2 separate regions of the Homo sapiens genome follow, and region 2 is linked to region 1. The links are contacts of gene promoters, found by promoter capture Hi-C in human tissues and cell types (Jung and others, 2019). All regions are on one chromosome and are shown on one strand. The core of a region is centred on a gene start or on the middle of the fragment in contact, and the rest is flanking DNA. Distances in the headings are between cores, read along the strand shown.

Region 1 (6,197 bases), core at 2,283-4,782:
CATTAGACACCTAAACTTAAACAAATGTCTTCCCAGGACTCTTATCAAAAGAGAAGAAGAAAAGCCAAGCAGGAGAGTGGGGAGATCACAGGCTTTGGAATGTGGTGGCCCCGGGAGGTTCTATCATCCTTAGCTATGAAACCCAGGGACAACTACTATGACTTCTCCAAACCCCCTATTCTACTGTAAAATAGCAACAAAAATAATAGGCTTGGGAAGTGCTTTAGAGCTTGCTACATACTACAGTCCCTAACAGAGGATCGATACTGTTGGTGCAGCTGCATGGAAACTGTAACCAAGAAGAGACCCCTGCACCTCTCCAATCGCTACCTTTGTATCCACCACTTGCCCTCCCCTACCCACCACCTCTCAACTTAACCTTCCCAAACACAGCACAGACTATCTGAGTCACAATTTCAAAAATATGTCCCTTAAATTGCTCACTCACATCAGAAAAATGATGACTTCCTCTGGTATTCAGTACCCAGCCTGCCCTCAGAGAATCAACAAGTCAAGTGTGCCCCAAAATTCTGCTCTAGTGAAAGTAAGGACTTCCTCCAGCACCTCATATTAAGCCATTCAAATTTATCACTGTGGATCATCTAATTCTATACATGGATCAAGTATCTTTTTCTACAAAAACTTCTGTAAAGAAAAGCCAGGTGCAGTGGCCTGGGCCTGTCGTCCCAGATGCTTGGGAGGCTGAGGTGGGAGGATAACTTGAGGGCAGGAGCCTGAGGCTGCAGTGAGCTATGATTACGCCTGTGAATAGCCAGTGCAGTCCAGCCTGGGCAACATCGTGAGACCCCATCTTTAAAACAAAAAAAATCGTGGCTCACGCCTGTAATCCCAGCACTTGGGAGGCCGAGACGGGTGGATCAGGAGGTCAGGAATTCAAGACCAGCCTGGCGAAGATGTTTCTCTACTAAAAATACAAAAAAACTAGCCAGGCATGGTGGCAGGCGCCTGTAATCCCAGCTACGCAGGAGGCTGAGGCAGAGAATTGCTTGAACACGGGAGGCAGAGGTTGGAGTGAGCCGAGATCGCGCCACTGCACTCCAGCCTGGGCAACAGAGCAAGACTTGGTCTCAAAAAAAAAAAAAAACAAAAAACAAAAAACTTCTGTAAAGAAATTTCAGAAGCTTATTTAAAAAAAAGCATTATAAGTTGTCTGATTTGAGAAAATAAAAGAGCCTTTTCTCATGAGAATTATCAAAGACTTCTCACCAACTGAACAATCACTGCTGCGTCACATGCAGACAATTCAACGGAATCAAAAAATACACAGAAGCCTCGCAGACTCACCTGGGATGTGCAGACTTGGGCCTGCTGTCCTACTGCGGCATGGAACCAGGATCTTAACGGAGGGCTGAGTTTGGTTGGGCAGGTGCTACGCGGAGCTCCTGAATGTAAGCGCTCCTGGACTGTGGCCTGTTCAAACACCGAAGCCGCAGAGCGGGCGTCAGAGCCTGTGGGAGGGACAGGGAGACCATCAGTGGAGGCGACTCTTCCTGTGCCTTCTCTTCAGCTACTTCCCAGGGATGCGGCGCGCACCGGGAACCCTCTACCACGAAAAAGCCGTCCAAGGAGCATCCACGCGTGCACTCAGGATGAGGCGGGTGGACCGTACTACCTCATCACCAGTTGTTGTAATGCACACGATATGAACACCTTAACCTTGACCCCAGACAAGCCCAGAGAAGGAAAACCTCCCCAACACCTGCCAGTCAGCTCCAGTCTAATCTTATTTCCAAAGAGTAAGAGGTAATAAATCCCCAAGTTTTGGATTTAATGAACCAGTAAAACTTCAATAACAACAACAACAAACCTCAGGGAGTAATAGGAGTTGCCAAAATTTTGCTTTGCTAAGTGTGGATTTTCTCTTTCATTACCATCTACGATCACTATGATTACATAAAATTAAGGTTCGTAAAAACAGTTTACAGTGAAAACATTCAAACACACAGATGGAGAACCGCACAGGGAGCACATGAGCCCCCCTTATTCAGCCTCAGTAACTACATCTGACCCATCCTGAGTCACTTCCCATCCCCAGGTAATTCTACAGCAAATCTCAGACCTATGACTTCATCCATAAATAAAAGCATACCAACTCCCGAAAAATGTGTAAGGAAATGATCTCAGAATAAAAGCCATCTACAAAGTGAAGACATCCAGTCGTATTAAAAACTCCCCACAATATCACTGCTTTCGGTTAGGACTCACATCTACCCTGGAAGGTGAGAACTCTGTCATGCACAACCAACGCTTGAGAACCACTTAGGGAGGGGATAAACGAACCTTGGGAGATGTAACCCAGTTTCACTCGAGATAAGTAACTTTGAACTTAACCCACTCCTTAATGTAGATGCAGAGATTTTGAACACAATTTTTCAAGTGGGACAGGTCAATCTCTACTTCACCAATTCCACCTAAAACATTAAGCAATAACCTAAACAACGCTCGCTCGCTCTCTGACGTGTAGGAGCCCGAGACAAGTGTTCCTGTAATCACTAGCAATCCCTCCGACGCACACACCATCCACACTCTACCCAACTCAGGAAGGATGCTCTCTCTTGTCCAAGGACAGCACAGGCCTCATCCACATTTCCACCTGCGCGAACCCCAGCCAGCACCATTTAGGCTCATTCCCGCTCCCTCCTCCTTCTAAAGTCACTTTTCCAGGATGAACTGCAACGGACGCTCGCAGGGTCAACCACGTGCTGGGGAGAGGAGCCCACGGAAGCAGCGGCCTCCCGGGGCCCAGCGCCGCGCTCCAGGGGCCTCCCGGGCGACTCCGCAGCGCCTGCCCCGAGCCCGGCCGCGGACACAGCGACCCGAGCACCTCTCCCCGAGCATGGCTCCGTGGCGAGCGTTACGTAAACGGGGGCGCGCGGAGTCTCCCCTCTCGTGTGTCTGGGTTTGGCGGCCGCCACTCCAGCCCCAGGCCCAGGACCCCCACGCCACCCGCCAGAAGCAGCAGCATCGGAACCGCACCCCGCCCCGGGCTCCATGGCCTCCTCCGCAACCACGAGGAAGGTGCCCGCCCCGGGGCCGCACCCGCCCCGCTGAGCTCTGCGGCCGCACGCGACGCCCTCGCCCTGATTCCGACTTCAACCTCTCCGAAGTTGACCTGAATCCTGCACAGACAGCGGGCCCCGGCGACCCCCATCACCGGCCCGGAGCCCGGGGGACGGCGGAGACCGGCGAGGACAGCCCGGCCCCGGACCCTCCTCGGGAATACCCGGGCTCTGGAGAAGCGAGCTCGCGAGCGGGCGGAGCATCCCGGGTCCTCCTCGGGGACGGCCGAAGCCCTGCGCGGACCCGCGCCCACGTTCTCCCTGAGCGTCCCGGCTGCGCCCGCCAGCCCTTCCCGCGCCCCAGGCCTCGCGGAACCCCCCGCCCCGGTCTCGTCCCCAGGCCTGCGCACCGCCCCGACCCGACCCCAGCCTACCCCGGCCTCTCCGCGGGCGCGCCACAAGCCTACGCAGCCCTGGCGACTCCTTCGGCCCGCGGCCCAGCACGCGCACCATCCGGGCCTCCGGCGCCTCACACACGTGTCACCGCGACGCTTAAAGGCGCCGCACCCAGCGTTCGCGCTGCGCTAACTCCGAAAGGGTTGGGAGGCTTTAAGAGGCGGGGCTAGATTCCGCTAACTCCCTGTCCCCGCCCACCGCCGCTTCCGTGTCGCCTACGTCACCTCCCCATCACGGGACCCCGCCAGCCTACGTGATGACGCAAGTGCGCAGAGCCACAGGCGCTCCCGCCCCTGTGCCGCGGCAGGGTGACGTCTCCGCAGCGCACTAGAGGTGCCGCTACTTCCGGGTCGGCCGAGCACACCTGGCGGCGTGGCGGACGCCTGAAGTGTGACAGTGGCGCGCGCCCCCGCCCCAGAACGGGGACTCGAGGGACTTTGCCCACCCCTGCAACAGCCCTCCCGCGCTGTCTCCCGGGCAGGGAGAAGGCTGGGCTCCCCCACCTGCCCCTGGCCGTCAGGTGGCTGTGGAGAAGCGGAGGCGCGGGCGCTCGGCCTTAACGTCCCGGGCTCTGGGGCCATCCGTGACTCCCACACGCGGAGCACCTGCAGTTTGGGGAGGGAGGGATCTGGGAGCGATCGGCCAAAGCCTGGGGCTGCCGAGGAAATGGCTCTTCGGAATTAGGGATCTGAGAGTGTGAGATTTGACCTTTGTAGGCTGGTGGCGGCTGTGCAATCTCTAGCTCCACCCACTCCCTCCAAAAGCTTTGTCCTCTGACAGCTCTGCGAAGGTTTTAGCTGAGTATTTGTGAGCACGTATTTCTTTTGCAGTATTTTTAAAAATCCTCTTGATCTGAGGCAACTTCGCTGGCTTCCTCCCCATTCCCTTGGGCAGGTTGAGAGTGTTGGTTCCTGGCCTGACCTCAGAAACTCAGAGAAGCACAGGATGGGCATAAACTACTTTATCCAAAAGGCAGAACTTTGCAAACACAGTCGTATCTGCTGTGTCTTTTTTGATGTAAGTAGGAATGATGAGTAGGGTGAAGTCACAGGTAAACAACCCAAAACGAATTTCCATGCCCTCCCCACGGATCCTAAAGCAGGGACTGGAGATGGGGAGAGAGGCTAGATGTACTTGGAACAAAATTCACCTTGTATTTATTACCTGGGCGCTGGTGTTTTTTGAAAAAAGCAAACAAGATAACCATATTAGTCTGATGCTGAGACTATGCCCTATCTGTAAGAATCCTTGGGCTGGGCGCGGTGGCTCACCCTTGTAATCCCAACACTTGGAGGCCAAGGTGGGCGGATCACCTGAGGTCAGGAGTTCGAGACCAGCATGGCCAACATGGTGAAACCCCGTCTCTACTAAACATACAAAAATTAGCTGGGTGTGGTGGTGGGCGCCTGTAATCCCAGCTACTCAGGAGGCTGAGGCACGAGAATCCCTTGAACCTAGGAGGCGGAGGTTGCAGCGAGCTGAGATGTCGCCACTGCACTCCAGCCTGGGCGACAGAGCGAGACTCCGTCTCAAAAGAAAAGAAAAGAAAAGAAAAAAAGGCAGGGCACAGTGGCTCACGCCTGTAATCCTAGCACTTTGGGAGGCCGAGGCAGGCAGATCGCTTGAGGTCAGGAATTCCAGACCAGCCTGGCCAACATGGTGAAAACCTGTCTCTACTAAAAATACAAAAATTAGCTGGGTATGGTGGCGCACGCCTGTAATCCGAGCTACTAGGGAGGCTGAGACAGGAGAATCGCTTGTACCTGGGAGGTGGAGGTTGCAATGAGCTGAGATCGTGCCATTGCACTCCAGCAGCCTGGACAACAGAGCAATACTTGGTCTAAAAAAAAAAAAAAGAAAGAAATGCAACGTAGGTCTCTCACGAAATTAGCCCAAATCTTCAGCCATCTTCTACAGGCTGTGAAACCAGGAGAGGAATTGAGTCCATCTTACCTTGACCTCCCAGGCAGGGAGCGGACCAGGTAATTTTTGGGTGACAATACAACTATTCTGTTAATGCACCTTTTTCTTGAGGTAAGTTCTAATGTGATCCGTTTTGGTTACAGCTTTCTATAACAGAATATTTTATTCTTTCATCTTTAATGTTTCTCTAGTTTTCTCTTTTAGGATTTAGAGATCATTCAGTCTCATCTCAAATATTTCAATTTCCATGTGGTTCTTTCATAAACATTTATCCACAGTGAGCCTGCCCTGCATTCTTTGGGTGTGGCTGACAGTTGCAGCCACCCTCAGGTCTGCGGGGGTGGGTGTGTTGCCCCTGAACTGCAATAGCAGAATTTCTCCCTAGCCTGGCAGGGGAGTGCAATCGTGGACTTGCTTTTCCACCCGCTGGGGTTGCATTTCATAGGTGCCGAGTGCCTGGGGGGCCCAGGCCTTTTCACATGAGGGTTTTCAGCCCAGATGTCCCTCCTGCTCTAGGGGAACCCTTCACATCAGTCAGGTGACTTGCTGGACTGGTAGAGCCTCTGCCATCAGCCTCTGATGCAAAACCTTTTCTCAGGTGTCTGTGCGGTCCATGGAGACCCGAGTTCCCAGGTTTGGGAGGGATGCCACTTTCCTTAGGAAGAACAGCAATGTATGTCGTCCTTCCCATCCATGCAGATGGGACAGGGCTCTCAGGAAATCTGCCATTAGCATCGCCCTAGAAGATGCACAGGCAGAGGCAGCTGCTGGGCACAGGCACTTGGGGAAGACAGGAGC
Region 2 (6,197 bases), core at 2,502-5,001, 1.3 Mb after region 1:
CCAACTTGAAGCTGCTTGGTCAGAAGTTCTAGAGATCCGAACTTATAACTGGTGTCTGAAAAGAGGGTAGTCATGGGGACTGAGCCGTCAACCTGCAGGATATGGCCTATCTCCAGGCAGGTGGTGTGAGTTGAACTGGAGGACACCCAGCTGGAAAAGCCCCACACCTCTGCTCACAGAAGTCTTCTTCTGTGCTGATGACTGTTGTGGTGGTGTGAGAGCAGAGGAAAAGCACAGTCTGTTTTTCCGAAATTGTGTTATATACAATTCCACATGCCAGCAAACCACTAAGCAAAGCTGGCTAAGAAAATGAAAGCCTTGGCCGGGCGCAGTAACTCATGCCTGAAATCCCAGCACTTTAGGAGGCCAAGGAGGGTGGATCACCTGAGGTCAGGAGTTTGAGACCAGCCTGACCAACATGGTGAAACCCCCGTCTCTACTAAAAATATGAAAATTAGTCGGGCATGGTGGTGCATGCCTGTAATCCCAGCTACTTGGGAGGGTGAGGCAGGAGAATAGCTTGAAACTGAGAGGCAAAGGTTGCAGTGAGCCGAGATGGCACCACTGCACTCCAGCCTGGGCAACAGAGCGAGACTCCATCTCAAAAAGAAAATGAAAGCTTTCCACAGTAGAGAACACAAATTTAAAAAAGTATTAAACCCTGTGGCTAAAGTCAGGGAAAGTGTTGGAACTGAGCGTGTACAAGCTGAGGGAAACAGTCATCCCAGAGCATCTAACTGCACTGCGCTGCCCAAATTTACATCCAGCCCTGCGCCGCACCCCAGGACAACTTACTGTGCGATGACATCTCTCCCTTTGATGATCTGCTTGATTGCTCGTTGCTGGATTGCTGATGGTTTTTCAAAACCTGCAAATAAAAACAAAAAATTAGCCCTCACCACAATGACAGCATAGAAACCCTGTACTGTGAGCTCCTCAGGGGCAGACATGGTTTGTTTTTTGAACCTGTCCTCCAGCCTAACCCAGTGTTCAACATAGCAAGCTCTCAAAACCCAGGGGCTCAATGAATTGGGCTGAGTGATTTCTACACTAACGTGGGATATTATTTGTAAAGACCAATCTCTATTTTTAAAAAACCACCAAATTGTAGAATATAGACAACAGTTTTGTTTAAAAAAAAAAAAAAATCTGGGTGTGCAGCATCTGGAAGTGTAAGTGCCAAAATGTTCCTGGCAGTTACTGCAGTAGAGGGGTGGAAAGAAACTTACTTTTTACTCTAATTACTCCCTTAGGTTTGACTGGATTACAAACAACCTATACTACTTTTTAAATTAAAAAAAAAAACAACAAAAAAACAGGAAAGTCACTCTAGCCATTGTTCTCTCCTACTAGCTAGCATTAAGTCTGTGTGTTGCTGACAGGTCTACAACTCTGTTTAACCTGCGTGGGTCACGCTGCAGGGTGTCCTATGTTGTTCTGTCTGGATGCAGCTCACTAACTACAACACCATCACACCATCTCTCTTGCAAAGCAACTACTACACCAAAGGGTGAGGCTATTTTGAAGAAGAACCACGTGTTTTTCAAGTAAATAAAATTTTATGTACAAAAACTCTATTTCAATTATTTTTTGGTAGTCTCTTAAATGTAGCTCTGCTCAGTTCTGGGGCATAGCGAAAAATAAGAAACAAAAGAAAATGTAGCACAATTTCCCATCTTAACACAAATGCAAATATAGCAGATGATTTAAACTCTTCATGAAGAGCAAGCACATAGATGGGAAACTAACAACAGTGTCTTAGGGCAGGGACTGCCTGAGTGCCAGGAAACCAGGTGGGGCTGTCAGCCTCACTGTGAGGCTGCCTGAGATGCTTTTTCACCACGCATCCTCAGCAACTTCGCTTCACTTTGTCCAAACTGTTGTGGCATCAAGAACTACAGGATACGGCCAGGTGGGGTGGCTCACACCTGTAATGCCATCACTTTGGGAGGCTGAGGCTGGTGGATCACTGAGGTCAGGAGTTCAAGACCAGCCTGGGCAACATGGCAAAATCCCCTCCCTACTAAAAATACAAAAATTAGTAGGACGTGGTGGCCCACACCTATAATCCCAGCTACTCGGGAGGCTGAGGCAAAGGAATCGCTTGAGCCCCAGAAGTGGAAGTTGCAATAAGCTGAGATCATGCCACTACACTCCAGCCTTGGTGACAAGAGCAGGACTGTCAGAAGGAAAAGGAAGAAAGAAAAGGAAGAGAACTACAGGATAAAAAATGTCCCTGTCCCAAGCATTAAACACAGGCCATTTATCCCAGATGCTGGTCATTCCCATCTATGTGCCCAACCCAACCTCTTCTCCAGGCTCTCCCTCAACTTCCTCACATCTTTCAAACATACCAAGAGACAGCTCCTGATTCTGACTCTCTGGAGTGCTGCCTACCTAGCCAAATGTTTGCAGCATCAACCACCGGTTACTCAAAACACTCCAACTCTCCTCCTTCTGTCACTCACGTTCAATCCATCAGCCAATGCTGTCAGCTCCCTGGTACTCCATCTCCAAGGCAGCACAATCCTCTCTTCCCTGAACTGCAGCAAAAGCTCCCAACTCTCTTGTTTCCTCTCCTGCCTTGCCTCGCCTCACCTCAAATCTACAGACACCCAGAAGAATCTTTAAAACTGTAAATGTGATCGTGTCACATAGCTACTTAAAACCTTCCACTGGCTTCCCACTAGATTTCTAAATGAAATTCAAATTATTCGTCACCCTACACGTCTTTGCTAGATCTGCCCCGACTAGCTCTCCAAAATCCCACCACAGGGGACTTCTTTCAGTTCCTGGAATGCAGCTGGCTAAGGGCTGCAAGGCCCTGGCACCAGCTGTTCCTTCTGCCCCAACTGCTCTTCCCTCTTCTCATAACAGTCTCCTTCATCCAGAACTCTGCTCAAATGGCACCCCCTCCTGCGAACCCCCTTACCTCTCTGCTTTACTAATTCTCTCCTCCTTCCCAGTCCCACTCTATTCAATTACCCCGCTTCAGGTTCTTCAGGTTGCCTGGGCAACCTGACAGTATGCTTTCCCCCCAAACGAAATTCAAAACCCGTAAAGGCGCAAACCCTTCCGGTTTACCGCCAAAACCCCAGTACCTAGAAAAGCTAATAGGTAGAAATCAGTTATCTGCTGAATGAAGGACGCTGAGGTGCCTCGAAGCGGCTGCAGCCCCCGACAGACCCAGCGCCGAGCTCTGCACGGGGGACACACACCGAAAGCGCCGACACAGCCAGGCGTGAGGGCGAGGACGGGGGTGGGGGTGGGGGTCGGACGTCACTGGCCCCCGAGCCTCGACCCTGACCACGACCTCCGGAGCGCAGGGCCGGCCCGGGAGTCACCAGTCTGGCCCTCAGCCCCCGGCTCGCCCCCGACTCGCCCCCGGCTGGCCCCCGCGGCCCGCGCCCGCTCACCGTAAGCGTAGATGCCCCGCAGCAGGTCCTCCCGCAGGCCCATGGTGTCGAACGTGGGGGTCACATCCACCTCCTCGCTGGTCTCGAATTCCACTTTAGTCATGTCTTCCTCTTTGAGCAGCCGCTTTCGCGCCGAGCCCGAGGTCGCCATCGTGGCCGTGGTCGCCATGATTCAGAGTCCGCGGAAGAGCACAGCGCGCGCCGCTGCCGACCTCGCTGCCGCTGCCGACCTCGCTGTGCCGCTGCCGACCTCGCTGCCGCTGCCGACCTCGCTGTGCCGCTGCCGACCTCGCTGTGCCGCTGCCGACCTCGCTGTGCCGCTGCCGACCTCGCTGTGCCGCTGCCGAGAACAGACGCCTTAAGTATGCGAAAGCGAGAGACGTGCGTGCGTACGTGCGTACGTGCGTACGCGCGACGCGGCCACGCCTCTGGGGGACGGGGCACTCTTCGTCACGTGAAAGGGAACTGGGCGTTTGCCGCAGGGAAAAGTAAGGTGTTTCTGCTCTCGCGCCATATGCAGTTCCCGCGGGATCTCGTTGAGGGCGGGGCACCCAGTTCCTTACGAAAGGGATGGAGGGGGTGGTACTTCTAAAGTTGGCGGTGTTTCGTACCGGCCGCGGGATTTCGCGGACTGGGGCGCTGAGGTTCTTTGAGCGGCGTGTGGACCTGAATTCCCTGGAAACAGGCTGGGGCCGCGAGGGGCCTCCGCTCCGGGCGGGGTCCCCAGATAGCCCCGCCTCGAATAAAAATGACGAGCACGGGTCCTCTCTCGGGCCCGCAGTGGGTGGACTGCGTCGCAGACCCGTAGTGGAGGCGCCCAGCTCGCCGGGGAGATTCGAGTGGAAACCCTCACGGCCGCCGGTGGTGGGCCCCGGCGCGGCGCTGGGCTCCGGCGGGTCTGCGCTGGGGAGGGCCAGGGCCCCTGAAGCCGGCGTCCCTCTTAGGGGACGCGCCTGGGTGTGTCTTCACCGTTTGCCTGGTGAGTTGGAGACAGGGTCTCGCTCCGTCGCCCAGGCTGGAGTGCAGTGGTAGGATCAGGGTTCATTGTAGCCTCCGCCTCAGCCTCTGGAGTAGCTGGGACCTCAGGCGCGCGCCACCACGCCCGGCTAATTTTTTAAATTTTTTTGTAGAGACGGGGTTGGGGGAGGCGGGGGTTAGGGTTGTCCTGGCTGGTCTTGAACTGCGGGGCCTCAGGTGATCCGCCTGCCTTGGCCTCCCAAAGTGCTGGGATTACAGGCATGAGCCACTGTGCCCGGCAAGCAGCTGTTATAAATAAAATACATGCTGAGCCTGCAATTTGCTCTTAATGAAGGCCACTTGTCAGTAGACGGTGCTGCTAATGCGTGTCCTGCAGCAAAGATAACCCAGACGGGATCATTTTTTAATTGCCCAGCAGAACTTTAACCAGTTGTGCATCTTAACCTGCTTTTTGTTTGTTCGTTTGTTTGTTTTGAGACAGTCTGGCCCTGTCGCCCAGGCTGGAGTGCCATGGCGCGATCTCGGTTCACTGCAGCCTCCACCTCCCGAGCACAGGCGATCCTCCCGCCTCAGCCTCCAGAGCACCTGGGACCACAGGTGTCCACGCGCAGCCACTAACCGCTTTCTTATCTGACACTTTAAGTGCTTCTTCGTACCCAGCTCCTCTAACGCCTTTTGAAGCAGCTCCATCATCTTTGAAGGGCAGTTCATGCTGTTGAGAATCATGTTTTTAACTTTGGGAAAATTGTATTTCCACGAGCGCCAGCTCTGTCCTTTTTTTTTTTTTTTTTTTTTTTTTTTTTTGACGGAGTCTTGCTCGGTTCGCCCAGGCTGGAGTGCAGTGTCGCGATCTCAGCTCACTGCAAGTTCTGTCGCCCAGGTTCACGCCATTCTCCTGCCTCAGCCTCCCAAATAGCTGGGACTACAGACACGCGCCACCACGCCCAGCTAATTTTCTGTATTTTTAGTATAGACCGGGTTTCACCATGTTGGCCAGGATGGTCTTGATCTCTTGACCTCATGATCCGCCCACCTCGGCTTCCCAAAGTGCTAGGATTACAGGCGTGAGCCACCGCGCCCCGCTATTTTGTGTGTGTGTGTGTGTGTGTGTGTGTGTGTGTGTGACAGAGTCTCGCTCTGTTCCCCAGGCTGGAGTGCAGTGGCGCAATCTTGGCTCACTGCAACCTCTGCCTCCCGGTTCAAGCGACTCCCCTTCCTCACCCTCCTGAGTAGCTAGGATTACAGGCATGCACCACCACGCCCGGCTAATTTTTGTATTTTTAGTAGAGATGGGGTTTCCCCGTGTTGGTCAGGCTGGTCTTGAACTCCTGACCTCATGATCTGCCCGCTTCAGCCTCCTAAAATGCTGGGATTACAGGCATGAGCCCGGTCCTGTCCTTTCTTATGGTCACAAATCTGGCTTGCATCGCTGGGCACATCTTTAATCCACAGCTTCTTTCTAGGAGTGCTTGAAAAGCTCTCCTTTTATGAAGGTTAATTTTAGTTAAAACCAGAGCATCCTGGCCAGGCCTGGTGGCTCACGCCTGTAATCCCAGCACTTTGGGAGGCCGAGGCAGACGGATCATGAGTGTAGGAGTTCGAGAACAGCCTGGCCAAAATGGTGAAACCCCATCTCTACTAAAAAAAAAATACAAAAATTAGCTGGCCGTGGTGACGGGTGTCTGTAGTCCCAGCTACTCTGGAGGCTGAGGCAGGAGAATCTCCTGAACCCCGGAGGTGGAGGTTGCAGTGAACCGAGATTGCGCCACTGCACTCCAGCCTGGGCGACAGAGACTCCATCTC

The links. Contacts are between HindIII fragments. The study calls those that stand out against the background at their distance.
Region 2: the fragment with the promoter of EIF4A3 here is called in contact with the fragment with the promoter of USP36 in region 1 in 1 of the 25 tissues and cell types used here (lymphoblastoid cells).

Annotation. Positions count from the first base shown.
Region 1 is chr17:78,837,282-78,843,478 of GRCh38, forward strand. USP36 (ubiquitin specific peptidase 36) reads right to left here and starts at 3,533. Exons shown (of 21, transcript NM_001385174.1): 1 at 3,455-3,533; 2 at 1,306-1,469. It overlaps LOC124904067 (a long non-coding RNA gene), which reads left to right and starts at 3,833. Exons shown (of 2, transcript XR_007065923.1): 1 at 3,833-6,197. RefSeq lists enhancers at 987-1,501, 1,502-2,016, 3,611-3,800 and silencers at 2,941-3,460, 3,921-4,020. The HindIII fragment of the contact is 7,372 bases long and covers 74-6,197 here.
Region 2 is chr17:80,143,377-80,149,573 of GRCh38, forward strand. EIF4A3 (eukaryotic translation initiation factor 4A3) reads right to left here and starts at 3,752. Exons shown (of 12, transcript NM_014740.4): 1 at 3,417-3,752; 2 at 796-868. The coding sequence starts at 3,585. RefSeq lists enhancers at 2,979-3,693, 3,694-4,406, 4,407-5,120, 5,121-5,833 and silencers at 3,331-3,380, 4,221-4,410. The HindIII fragment of the contact is 11,065 bases long and covers 1-6,197 here.